Linked DNA regions of Homo sapiens: region 2 is linked to region 1. The links are contacts of gene promoters, found by promoter capture Hi-C in blood cells and fetal thymus (Javierre and others, 2016). All regions are on one chromosome and are shown on one strand. The core of a region is centred on a gene start or on the middle of the fragment in contact, and the rest is flanking DNA. Distances in the headings are between cores, read along the strand shown.

Region 1 (5,231 bases), core at 1-2,500:
CCAAAGGACTACCCTCACAAAAAAGGGCAAGCCCTGGGGTAGTCTGTTTGCAAAGCTGTACTTGTTTTTGCTGAAAACAAGTGTGCTTCTGTTACCTATTTTTTTTACTTCCCAGTGGGGTGGGGAGGGTGGGGGGGTAGGGGGGGAGAAAGTCAAAACACATGTCACCCAATCATTTTTCAGGAAAAGCACAGAAGGAGCATACAACCAGCAAAACTGACAAGTACAAAATCCATCAGGCATCTTGCAGGAATGTGTGCAGTCAGCTCCCGGGAAGAACTGACGGCTCCCTGAATTCTTGGGCTGGATTTGGTGAGCACTAAAAGGAACCGGATTCGTTAAACGCTGGTAGAAGTGTTTTCCAATGGCTGCAACGGTTGGTCAACCTAACTTACGTAAGTTTACAACCGAAAAAAAAAATCCACAATGGAAATATAGCAGGTCGATACAGCCGGGGGCGGCTAGGAAAGAGGGAAAAGTGAAAGGTGAGATTACGAGAGTCTATTAAGTGTCTGGGATATAAAGACAGCGCCAGGGAAAGGGGAAGTCGCTTCTGAGCCTTTCGGGCAGTACTGGGGGCGCGGTGGACCCCTGAGAGGGGGATGCCCCAGACGGCGCACCTGATGGGGATGGTGACCTCCAGCCTGCTCGAGCCGCACTCCTCCCCTCCTGTATCAGGTGCGGCGGAAGCCCCGAACCCCGGGGGGTGAGGACCGTTGACAACGGAGCCCGCTCGGGCCAGGGCTTTCAGCGGCCACAGGTCCCCGCCCCTCGCCCCAGCGCCCGGGTCACGGGGCGCGGGGCTCGGGGAGGGGCAGCGCGCAGTCCCCGGAGCCGTCCCTTGGGGCGCGGGTGTCCCGCCGGAGCTCTCCCAGCGCGACCCGGCGCCGCGGCCTCGCCCCCACCCGTCCCGGAGCGCACCCTTCCCCGCGGAGACATCTAATCGGCTGCGTGGCCGCCGCGGAGACCGGGACGCGCCGGTGACGCCTGGGCCCCGAGCCTGCCTCAGTGTCCCGCTCCCTTACCTTGCTCGCCGGCGGGAGCGGGCGAGGAGGCTCCGCGGCGGCTCGCGGGCGGCTGCTCGCTCCGGGAGAGCTTGGGAGCCGACGAAAGCAGCCCGCGGCCGGCGTCCGCCTGCCCGCCCCACGCCGCGGCCCCGGGGCCCGCCGCCCCAGTCACTAAGGCCGGCCCGCGGCCGGACACTGGCGGAGCGGAGGAGGAGCGGGCCCGGCTGCGCGGCGCCGGCGTCTACGTGCCCGACGTCGAGCGCGTCGGCGCGAGCGTCAGCACCGCCCCGGGGGCGGGGCCCGAGGAGCACCTTGGCCCGAGTACGCAAGCGCTGTCTCCTCAGGAGGGGGCGGGAGGCGGCCCCGGGGCACTGATTGGCTGAGCGAGACGGGAGCCACGCCCCCCAGGCCCCGCCCGGGTCGCGGGGGAGGGGGCGGTCTCCGGGATGAGCCACAGGTGGGCGCTCAGGTGCTCGCCGGGTCAGCGTCTTCCTCCGGGCGTCCCCAGTTTCCCCCCACGGCTGCAGGGACGCCGGAGGCCTTTGCTGAGTGTCTACCGCGCCTCGAGTTCTGAGCTGGACGCGTCCGGCACGTCAGGTCCCTCCCGAGCTGGAGGCTCTGGATTCGCACCTTGCAGAAGAGCGAACCGAGGCTTCAGTCACCACCGAGGACCCAGACCCCGCCCGCCGCGGCGCCCCTACGGTCTCCCTGGGCCTGATCTGGGTTCAGAAGGACGGAGTTCCCGCCAGGACCCACTTACGGAGCGCTGCCTGCCGCACCTGGGGACGTCCCGGCGCAGCGTCCAGAGTGCAGGCTTTGCCGCTGTGGCTTTCACTCTGCAGCGTGGGCCCGGGCGACTCGGGAAACCCGCCTGGGCTTCAGCGCCTCCGATGTAGGATGGGAAAATGATGCAGACCTACCTGCGAGGCTGCTTTAAGACATGAATCAGATGTGAAGAGCGACTAGTTGAGAGCCTGACGGGCAGCACTGCGCGAGTCTTGGTCATTTCATCTTTTCCGCAAGTTTTTTTTTTTTTCCAGACGTTGTTTCACTCTTGTCACCCAGGCTGGAGTGCAATGGCGCCATCTCGGCTCACTGCAACCTCTGCCTCCCGGGTTCAAGTGATTCTCCTGCCTCAACCTCCCGTGTAGCTGGGATTACAGGCGCACGCCACCAAGTCCAGATAATTTTGTATTTTTAGTAGAGACGGGATTTCTACATGTTGGTCGAGCTGGTCTCGAACTCCTGACCTCAGGTGGTCTGCCCGCCTCAGCCTCCCAAAGTGTTGGGATTACAGGCGTGAGCCACTGCGCCCGGCCTCAGCAAGAATTTTTAAACATCTACTATGGGCCAAGTCTTGTGCTAGATGTTGCAGATACGGAGATGAATAGAGACACCTCTAATTAATTAAAGCGGATGCCCTCCCCACTCCTCCCAGGATTTGACTCGGAGCACAAACTCTTCACAAACCAAAATGTCAGGACACCATCGCCAGTGTCCACTGGCCACTGCTGTTGGTGTGAGGCAGCCAGGAGCCCCTCAGAACTAGTAAGTCTGAGAAGAGGCTGCACGGGGCCTAGGAGAGGGAGAAATGAGCCCGTCCAAGGTGAATTCCTTGATTCTCCATTGTGAGTGCACCAAGAACAAGCACTCCCTCCGACTGACTCTCGCCTACCAGGATCTGGAACACCTTCCATTAATTTATTCGTTCATTCAATAAATATTTATTGACTGACTACACATAGATATGAATATGTACTTTTTGCCCCTAGTTTCTTGCTATTTTAAAAGTGTAAAAATGGCCAGGTGAGGCCGGGTGCGGTGGCTCAAGCCTGTAATCCCAGCACTTTGGGAGACCCAGGTGGGCAGATCACTTGAGGTCAGGAGTTCAAAACCAGCCTGGCCAACATGGTGAAACCCTATCCCTACTAAAAATACAAAAATTAGCCGGGTGTGGTGGCGGGCATCTGTAATCCCAGCTACTCAGGAGGCTGAGGTGGAAGAATAGCTTGAACCTGGGAGGTGGAGGTTGCAATGAGGAGATCATGCCACTGCGCTCCAGGCTGGGAGACAAAGCGAGGCTCTGTCTCAGAAAAAAAAAAAAAAAAAAAACATTGGCCAGGTGCAGTGGCTCACGTCTGTAATCCCAGCACGCTGGGGGGCCAACGTGGGAGGATTGCTTGAGCCTGGGCAATATATCGAGACCCATGTCTATACAAAAAATTAAAAATTAGTCCAGCAAGGTGGGCCACACCTGTAGTCCCAGGTACTTGGGGGATTGAGGTGGGAGGATCGCTTGAGCCTGAGAGGTCGAGGCTGCAGTGAGCTGTGATTGTGCCACTGCATTCCAGCCTGGGTGCCAAAGCGAGACTCTGTCTCAAAAATAATAAAATTGTAAAGTTGATCGCTTAGATGAGGTGTTCTGCAAGTACCCTGTACCTCTCCACACCCCAGCAATTCTGCACAACTCCCAAGTTCCCCTGAACCACTGTCTGAAACCAGCAAATTTCCAGCTCTCCTTAGGGGTACCTGCTTAATGCAGCCAGCTTATGTTTGCACCATGCTCATAAAGTGTCTGTTTTCTAAGAAATCGGCTCAAGGCCGGGCGCAGTGGCTCACGCCTGTAATCCCAGCACTCTGGGAGGCCGAGGTAGGCGGATCACGAGTTCAGGAGATCGAGACCATCCTGGCTAACACAGTGAAACCCTGTCTCTACTAAAAATACAAAAAATTAGCCGGGCGTGGTGGCAGGCGCCTGTAGTCCCAGCTACTCGGGAGGCTGAGGCAGGAGAATGGCGTGAACCCGGGAGACGGAGCTTGCAGCGAGCCGAGATCGCGCCACTGCACTCCAGCCTGGGCAACAAAGCGAGACTCCATCTCAAAAAAAAAAAAAAAAAGAAAAATCGGCTCAAGATCAAAATTTAGTTCGGCAGGGTAGAATGTTCATTCATTTCATGAATATTTGTGCAGCATGTATGAGCCAAGCATGGCTTAGGTCTTGGGAACGCAGAGCTAAGACATCACTTCTAGTATGAGTTCACAGTCTGGAGAAAGAGAAGAAAAACAGACTATTGCAATGTCTGTCCCGTAAACAGTGTGTGACTTGGTGCTGTGGAATCACAGGGAAGGGAGGAACCCGCTCTCCAGCTGGCATCATGGGGGCTTCATAGAGGAGGCAATATCTGAGCTGGGTCTTGAATGATGTGGGATTTTTCCAGCGGAGAAGGGAGACACCCAGTTGGTATAGCTCCAGGAAAATGAGAATTCTGAATTTCATTTTATTTCTTTCTTTTCTTTCTTTTTCCTTCCTTCCTTGCTTCCTTCCTTCCTTCCTTCCTTCCTTCCTCCCTTCCTTCCTTCCTTCCTTCCTTCCTTCCTCTCTCTCTCTCCCTCCCTCCCCTCCCCTTACCCTTCCTTTGTTCTTTTTCTCTCTCTTTTTTTTTTTTTTTTTGAGACAGGGTCTCATGTAGTCACCTAGGCTGGGATATAGTGGTTCGAACACAGTTTACTGCAGCCTCTACCTCCCAGGCCCATCAGTCATCTCACCTCAGCTCCCCAACAAGTAGCTGGGACTACCAGCGCAGACCACCATGCCTGGCTAACTTTTTTGTATTTTTGGTAGAAAAGAGGTTTCACCATGTTGCCCAGGATGGTCTCAAACTCCTGAGCCCAAGCAATCCTCCCACCTCACCCTCCCAAAGTGCTGGAATTACAGGCATGAGCCACCACTCATGGCCCTCATTCATTTTAATTCATTTATTATTTCATTCCCCCAGATCGCAAAATCAGTAAGGGGGAAATCGTAAACAACCTAAATGGCCAAGAAAACAAGATTGGTTAAATTATTGCACTTCCAAATGACAGAAAACTTGGTGACATTCACAGTCATTTTTTTTGAGACTGAATCTTGCCCCGTCGCCCAGGCTGGAGTGCAGTGGGGTGATCTCGGCTCACTGCAGCCTCCGCCTCCTGGGGTTCCAGAGATTCTCCTGCCTCAGCTTCCTGGGTAGCTGGGATTACAGGCACACCTGGCTAATTTTTGTATTTTTAGTAGAGACTGGGTTTCACCATGTTGGACAGGCTGGTTTCGAACTCCTGACCTCAGGTGATCCATCCACCTCAGCCTCCCAAAGTGCTAGGATTACAGGTGTGAGCCACCGCACCTGGCCCACAGTCATATTTTAGATAACTACATATATCATGATTGTGGTGGTAGTTACATTA
Region 2 (5,231 bases), core at 818-3,317, 86 kb after region 1:
CTTAATCGAGACTAGAGGGACACCTGCGAGCAGAATCTTGGCGGTGCCCACAGCCCAGGATACTGCCTCTCTGGGACCTCAGCTGCCGGTGCACAGCTGGCACCCTAGCCTGGGGTCCCGCTCCACTGGGAGTCCCTCTGGCCTCAGAGAGTTGGCCCAGACCCCTCCCTAGAGACTGGGCCAGCTGGGGCTGGGTCCCCTGGCTGCTGGCTGCAGCTGGGGTCATCTGACAGCCCACTGCCCTCCTGTCTGTCCTGACTCTGCCTGCTACCACAGACATGGTGTGAGAATGAGAGGGACAGAGGTGGGGTCCCCTTTCTCCATGTCTTTCTTCCTTCCTTCCTTCCTTCCTTCCTTCCTTCCTTCCTTCCTTCCTCCCTCCCCCTCCTCGTCCTCCTCCTCCTCCTCTCCTTCTCCTTCTTTTCTCTCTCTCTCTTTTTTGAGATGGAGTTTCACTCTTGTTGCTCAAGCTGGAGTGTAGTGGCACGATCTCGGCTCACTGCAACCTCTGCCTCCTGGGTTCAAGTGATTCTCTTGCCTCAGCCTCCTGAGTAGCTGGGATTACAGGTGTGCACCACCACACCCGGCTAATTTTTGATATTTTTAGTAGAGACAGGGTTTCACCATGTTGGCCAGGCTGGTCTTGAACTCCTGACCTCAGGTGATCCACCTGCCTCGGTCTCCCAAAGTGCTGGGATTACAGGTGTGAGCCACTGTGCCTGGCCCCTGTCTCTTTCAATAAAGACACTTCTACTGGATTAAACCCACCAGCGAGTCAGAACCCTTCTGCCGGTGCTCATCCGGCCCCTCTATTGGCCTTCCTCTCTCATGAGGTTGTCTTGGGCCCTGTCAGTGCAGGGGGCCTGGGGTCGGCCAAGTCCCCTCCTCGGGTGTCCCAGAGCAAGTTCTCCAAGCCTCTGGAGGAGTCTCTGAACCCCTGGCTTTAGCAGCTCCTGACTTCCAGACTGTAGGCACAGGATGGTCCCTAAATGCTCCCATCTTCAAACCGGAAACAAAGAGGGACCCACCGCACCTGGAAGACGATGACAAACGCCAGCCGGGCTGCCAGGACGGCCCAGAAGTCCTTGGAGATGTCGTACTTGTTTTCCGACCACGGCGGCTCTCGGTAGTCTTTATACCTGCAAAAGACCGTGGTGGAGTCGAGGGTGGGACTTCGGTGGGGCTCAGGCTCTGGCTGGAGTCAGGCAGCTCGAGGGACGCCTGGGAGAGGCTCAGCTTGGTGTGCGGCTGCCTCCGGGAGGGCAGCCCTCTCTTGGGCGAGCAGCCCATGGCCCCGCACCCACGGAGTCTCTCTCCACAGTGGAGGGGGTTGGTCAGGATCCCCCATGGGCCAGGCAGGACCTGACGGGCTTCATGTAAAACACATGTGGCAGGAAGTATCCCCAGGCCCAGCCGTGGGCTCACAGAATCAAGGGTGGGGACCATGTGGTCCAGGAGGTTGCAAACTTTTAAAAGCAGTGGAGCCTTTGTTCCCAAAAGGTCTCACTGGAAACTCCAATAGGCCCCAAGAGTGCAGAGCCTACTTGGTTGAAGTCGGGGGGGTTCCCTAAGCTTGAACCTCCTGAACCTCAACCCAACGCCCATGCTCCACAGAACTTCAGAATGGGTTCCATGAAACACCCCTCCAGTCCATCCCCTCTTTGAGGGAATCTACCAAAGAAAAACCTCTGAGCACTTTATTAGCCAGGTGTGGTGGCTCGTGCCTGTAACCTCAGCACTGTAATCTCAGGCTGAGGAGTTAGAGATCAGTCTGGGCCACACAGTAAAACCCTGTCTCTGCAAAAAATACAAAAATTAGCCGGGCCTGGCAGTGCACGCCTGTATTCCCAGCTACTCGGGAGGCTGAGGTGGGAGGATCACCTGAGCCCGGGAGGTTGAGGTTGCAGTGAGCTTTGATCACGCCACTGCTCTTCAGCCTGGGCCACAAAGTGAGACCGTCTCTAAAAAAAGCAAACCAAACAACAACCAAAAAACACAGCAAAACAATACCCTGAACATTTTATCAAAGTAACTTAAGCAGTTTATCAAACATTTGCGAAAGAACGAAGCTAAGCATTCCGCTGGTGCAGGCAGAGGCGTGTCAGGCAGCCGGCCTGGCCCGCCCTGCCCTACCCGGGTCTGGGGCTGCTTTTCCTCCTCCAGGGTTGCTGCTTGGTCCTCACCTCCTTATCTTGAAGGAACTGCCCCTGGTTCTCATTACCAGCTTTAGATGTAGCTGACTGATCTCCTGCTTGGAGAGTCAAGCTCACTCACACCCCTCTCCCCAAGGTCCTGCCACTGACCTTGGCTCTTCGTGGATATGATTGGAGCCTCAGGAAGGAGGCTTGCCCCATTCATGACCACTGCCCGTGCTCCAGTTCTCCCCAGCCCCTTCCTCTTTTCACAGAGACCCAGAGATGCCCAGGGTCTGTGGGGGCAGGGTGAGGTCTCTGCCTAGGGCCTCCCTCCCTCCACAGCTCCCTGAATCTGGGGGATGCCACACATCAGCTGGAACATAGCTTGAATGGAGCTGACGTCCCCACCCTGCATTGGAAAAGCTTCCCAAAGCTGGACAGAAAATGCCCCCATGAGGGGCAGGATTTCCAGGGGCTCAGGGGCCGTTTGTGCCCCTGTTGGTCACTAAAACCTGAGGTCAGTCGGGGAGGCTAGGAGAAGGGCCACCTGGATTTGCAGGCACAGCCCTGGCCTGGACCCACATCCCTGGTGCTCGCCCACTCCGACTACCACCTTGCTGTGTGTCCCCTGGGCAATCACTTGACCTCTCTGGGCCTCAGTCTGGGCATTCCCTCACTTACTTATGTCACAAGCATTTATTGACCAACTACTATGTGCCAGACCCCACCCCAGGGATGGAGAATTCCGGGGTGGGGGGCGGTGCACAACAGATAGGGCCCTTGCCTACGGAGCTTGATTTCTGGAGGGAGCTGGATGGGAGTCTCCGAGGGCCTATTCAGCACTGAGCTGCCAACTCCTGAGATAGGATCAGGCTGGGCCACGGCTCTGGTGCCAGCTGCTGGGCCAGGCAGAAGTTGCACAACCTGCTTTCCCATGGGAACAAGCAGCCCTGTCCTCCCAGTGTCAGAAGCCACACGCACCAGCTCGTTCCTCTTTATTCTGTGCTCAAGGCTTTGCCTGCTAGCATCTGTCTCCTCTTCTTCAAGTCATAGCACCCCAGTTTTCCCTAGGACCCCCCCATTCTCTGTGACCTCACACCCTGGCACATGACCCAGGCCAAGCCAAGGAGAGCCCCCCTCCTCATGGCAATAGTGGTTGGTTCAAGAATGGACATCTGACCCAAGATGGGGCAGTAAGACTCAGTCCCTGGATTTTCACTGACTATTGGGAAACAGAAGGTCTTCCCACAGGGGCTGCAGAGCAGAAAGGATTGAAGCCAGGAGCTGCTAGGGATCCTTTTCATCAGCAAGAGAACAATGCAACACAGAGGAAATCAAAGTGGAGAGGCAGTGCCAGAGTGGAGCCTGATGGCAAACTGTAGCTCCTGGATCCAGCCATGCCTGAAGCTATCCTGGGCTTCTTAGTTACAGGAACTGGTAAATCACCTCTAATTTCCTCCCCTTAGGCATTTGTTTATTTCTTTATAGATAGGGTCTCACTCTGTTGCCCAGGCTGGAGTGCAGTGGTGCGATCATAGCTCACTGCAGCCTCAAATTCCTAGGCTCAATTGATCCTCCCACCTCAGCCTCCCGAGTAGCTAGAACTACAGGTGAGTGCCACAACGCCCGGCTATTTAAAAAATTTTTTGTAGAGATGAGGTCTCACTATGTGGCTCAGGCTGGTCTCTAACTCCTGAGCTCAAGTGATCCTCCTGCCTGGCCCTCCCAAAGTGCTGGGATGACGGGTGTGAGCCACTGCACCAGCCTTTTTTTTTTTCCTTCTTCTTCTTTTTAAGCAAGTTTGCGTTGTTTCATGACTTGCTCCTGATTTGAGCCCCGTCCAAACCCAGGCTCTCCCAGAAACCCAATAAACGTGGCTTTTCAAAGAGGGGAGCAGAGAGCAGTACCTGCAGATCTGCACCTCGTAGCCCAGGTCCAGGGGGTCATTGGGGGCCGTGCCGTTCTGGAAGTCACTGACGTTGAAGGAGGAGAGGGTGTGGTTGACGAAGCCGTGCATGGTCCCGTTCTTACTGTACATGTAGAGGTACACCAGGCGCGGGATGAAGTCAGACGTGAAGGAGATCACGAAGGCCTGTGCAGGGGACATGGCAGTGAGGGGGACCCCCAGCCTGGGCGCAGAAGGGCCGGCCGCAACAGGGGGTGACCCATCCACAGTTACACTGGACCCTGGCCATATGCCACTGCCTCTGGCGGGGACCATAGCCGCACAGCCTCGGCATGCTGAGTGAATGGATGCAGGGTCGCGGGTGTTCCTCTCAGCCCCCTGGCAGCTGAAGGAGAGTGCCTGGTGGCCAGAACAGTGCACTTCTAGGAGAGAAGGCACCAGGCAGACGCTGGCAGCCTCTTGCTGGCTGTGTGGCCTTGGGCAAATCACCCAACCTCTCTGTGCCTCCATTTTCTTCTTGTCAAAACAGGGCTAACAACACCCACACCATGTATGCACTGTGCCTCTGGGCTTGTTGGAGAAGGGAATGAGGCAGGAAGGGAAAGTGCTTTGCAAGCTCTCAAGTCCTCACCCGGCTCATTCTATTATAGCACCGGCTCTGGCTGGTGCCCTTACAAGAGAGGAAACCAAGGCCCAACGGCTGCCTCTCACATGGCTGTGTGGCCTTGGGCAAATCACCTAACCTCTCTGTGCCTCTGGTGTCTTACCTGTAAGATGGGGCCATGGCAGTCCTCGCCTTCAAGGGCTGTCTGCAGACCAGTGGGCTAGTGTGTGGAAAGAGCTTAGAAGGTTCTAGAACATTCTAGGTGCCTCGTGAATGTTTCCTGCTACTACTTTTTTTTTTTTTTTCAGAGAGAGAGACATGGTCTCACTGTGTTTCATTATGTTGGCCAGGCTGGTCTTGAATTCCTCGCCTCAAGCGATCCTCCTGCCTTGGCCTCCCAAAGTGCTGGGATTACAGGTGTGAGCCACCGGGCCCAGCCTGCTGTTATTGTTGTTGCTGCTGTTGTCCTCAGGAGATGCCCACTGTGCTCCGCAGCTGCTCACAGCGCCGCTTGTTGCAGGCAGGACGTACCTCTGTTCCCAGCTCCACCCACTCCAGCACAGCATGGGCCCTGCCTCAGGGCCCT

Evidence for each region. The method cuts DNA at HindIII sites, captures the fragments that hold promoters and counts their contacts. A CHiCAGO score of 5 or more calls a contact.
Region 2: a fragment that was not itself captured here is called in contact with the fragment with the promoter of PPFIA1 in region 1 in 1 of 17 cell types (neutrophils); the score reaches 5.3 in neutrophils.

The regions. Positions count from the first base shown.
Region 1 is chr11:70,266,709-70,271,939 of GRCh38, reverse strand. PPFIA1 (PPFI scaffold protein A1) reads right to left here and starts at 1,250. Exons shown (of 28, transcript NM_003626.5): 1 at 1,026-1,250. RefSeq lists silencers at 646-1,075, 1,116-1,665. The HindIII fragment of the contact is 13,908 bases long and covers 1-5,231 here.
Region 2 is chr11:70,181,498-70,186,728 of GRCh38, reverse strand. It overlaps ANO1 (anoctamin 1), which reads right to left. Exons shown (of 26, transcript NM_018043.7): 24 at 4,043-4,227; 25 at 1,034-1,139. Among named protein-coding and RNA genes, the nearest start is that of FADD, 19 kb to the left of the region's middle. The HindIII fragment of the contact is 986 bases long and covers 1,575-2,560 here.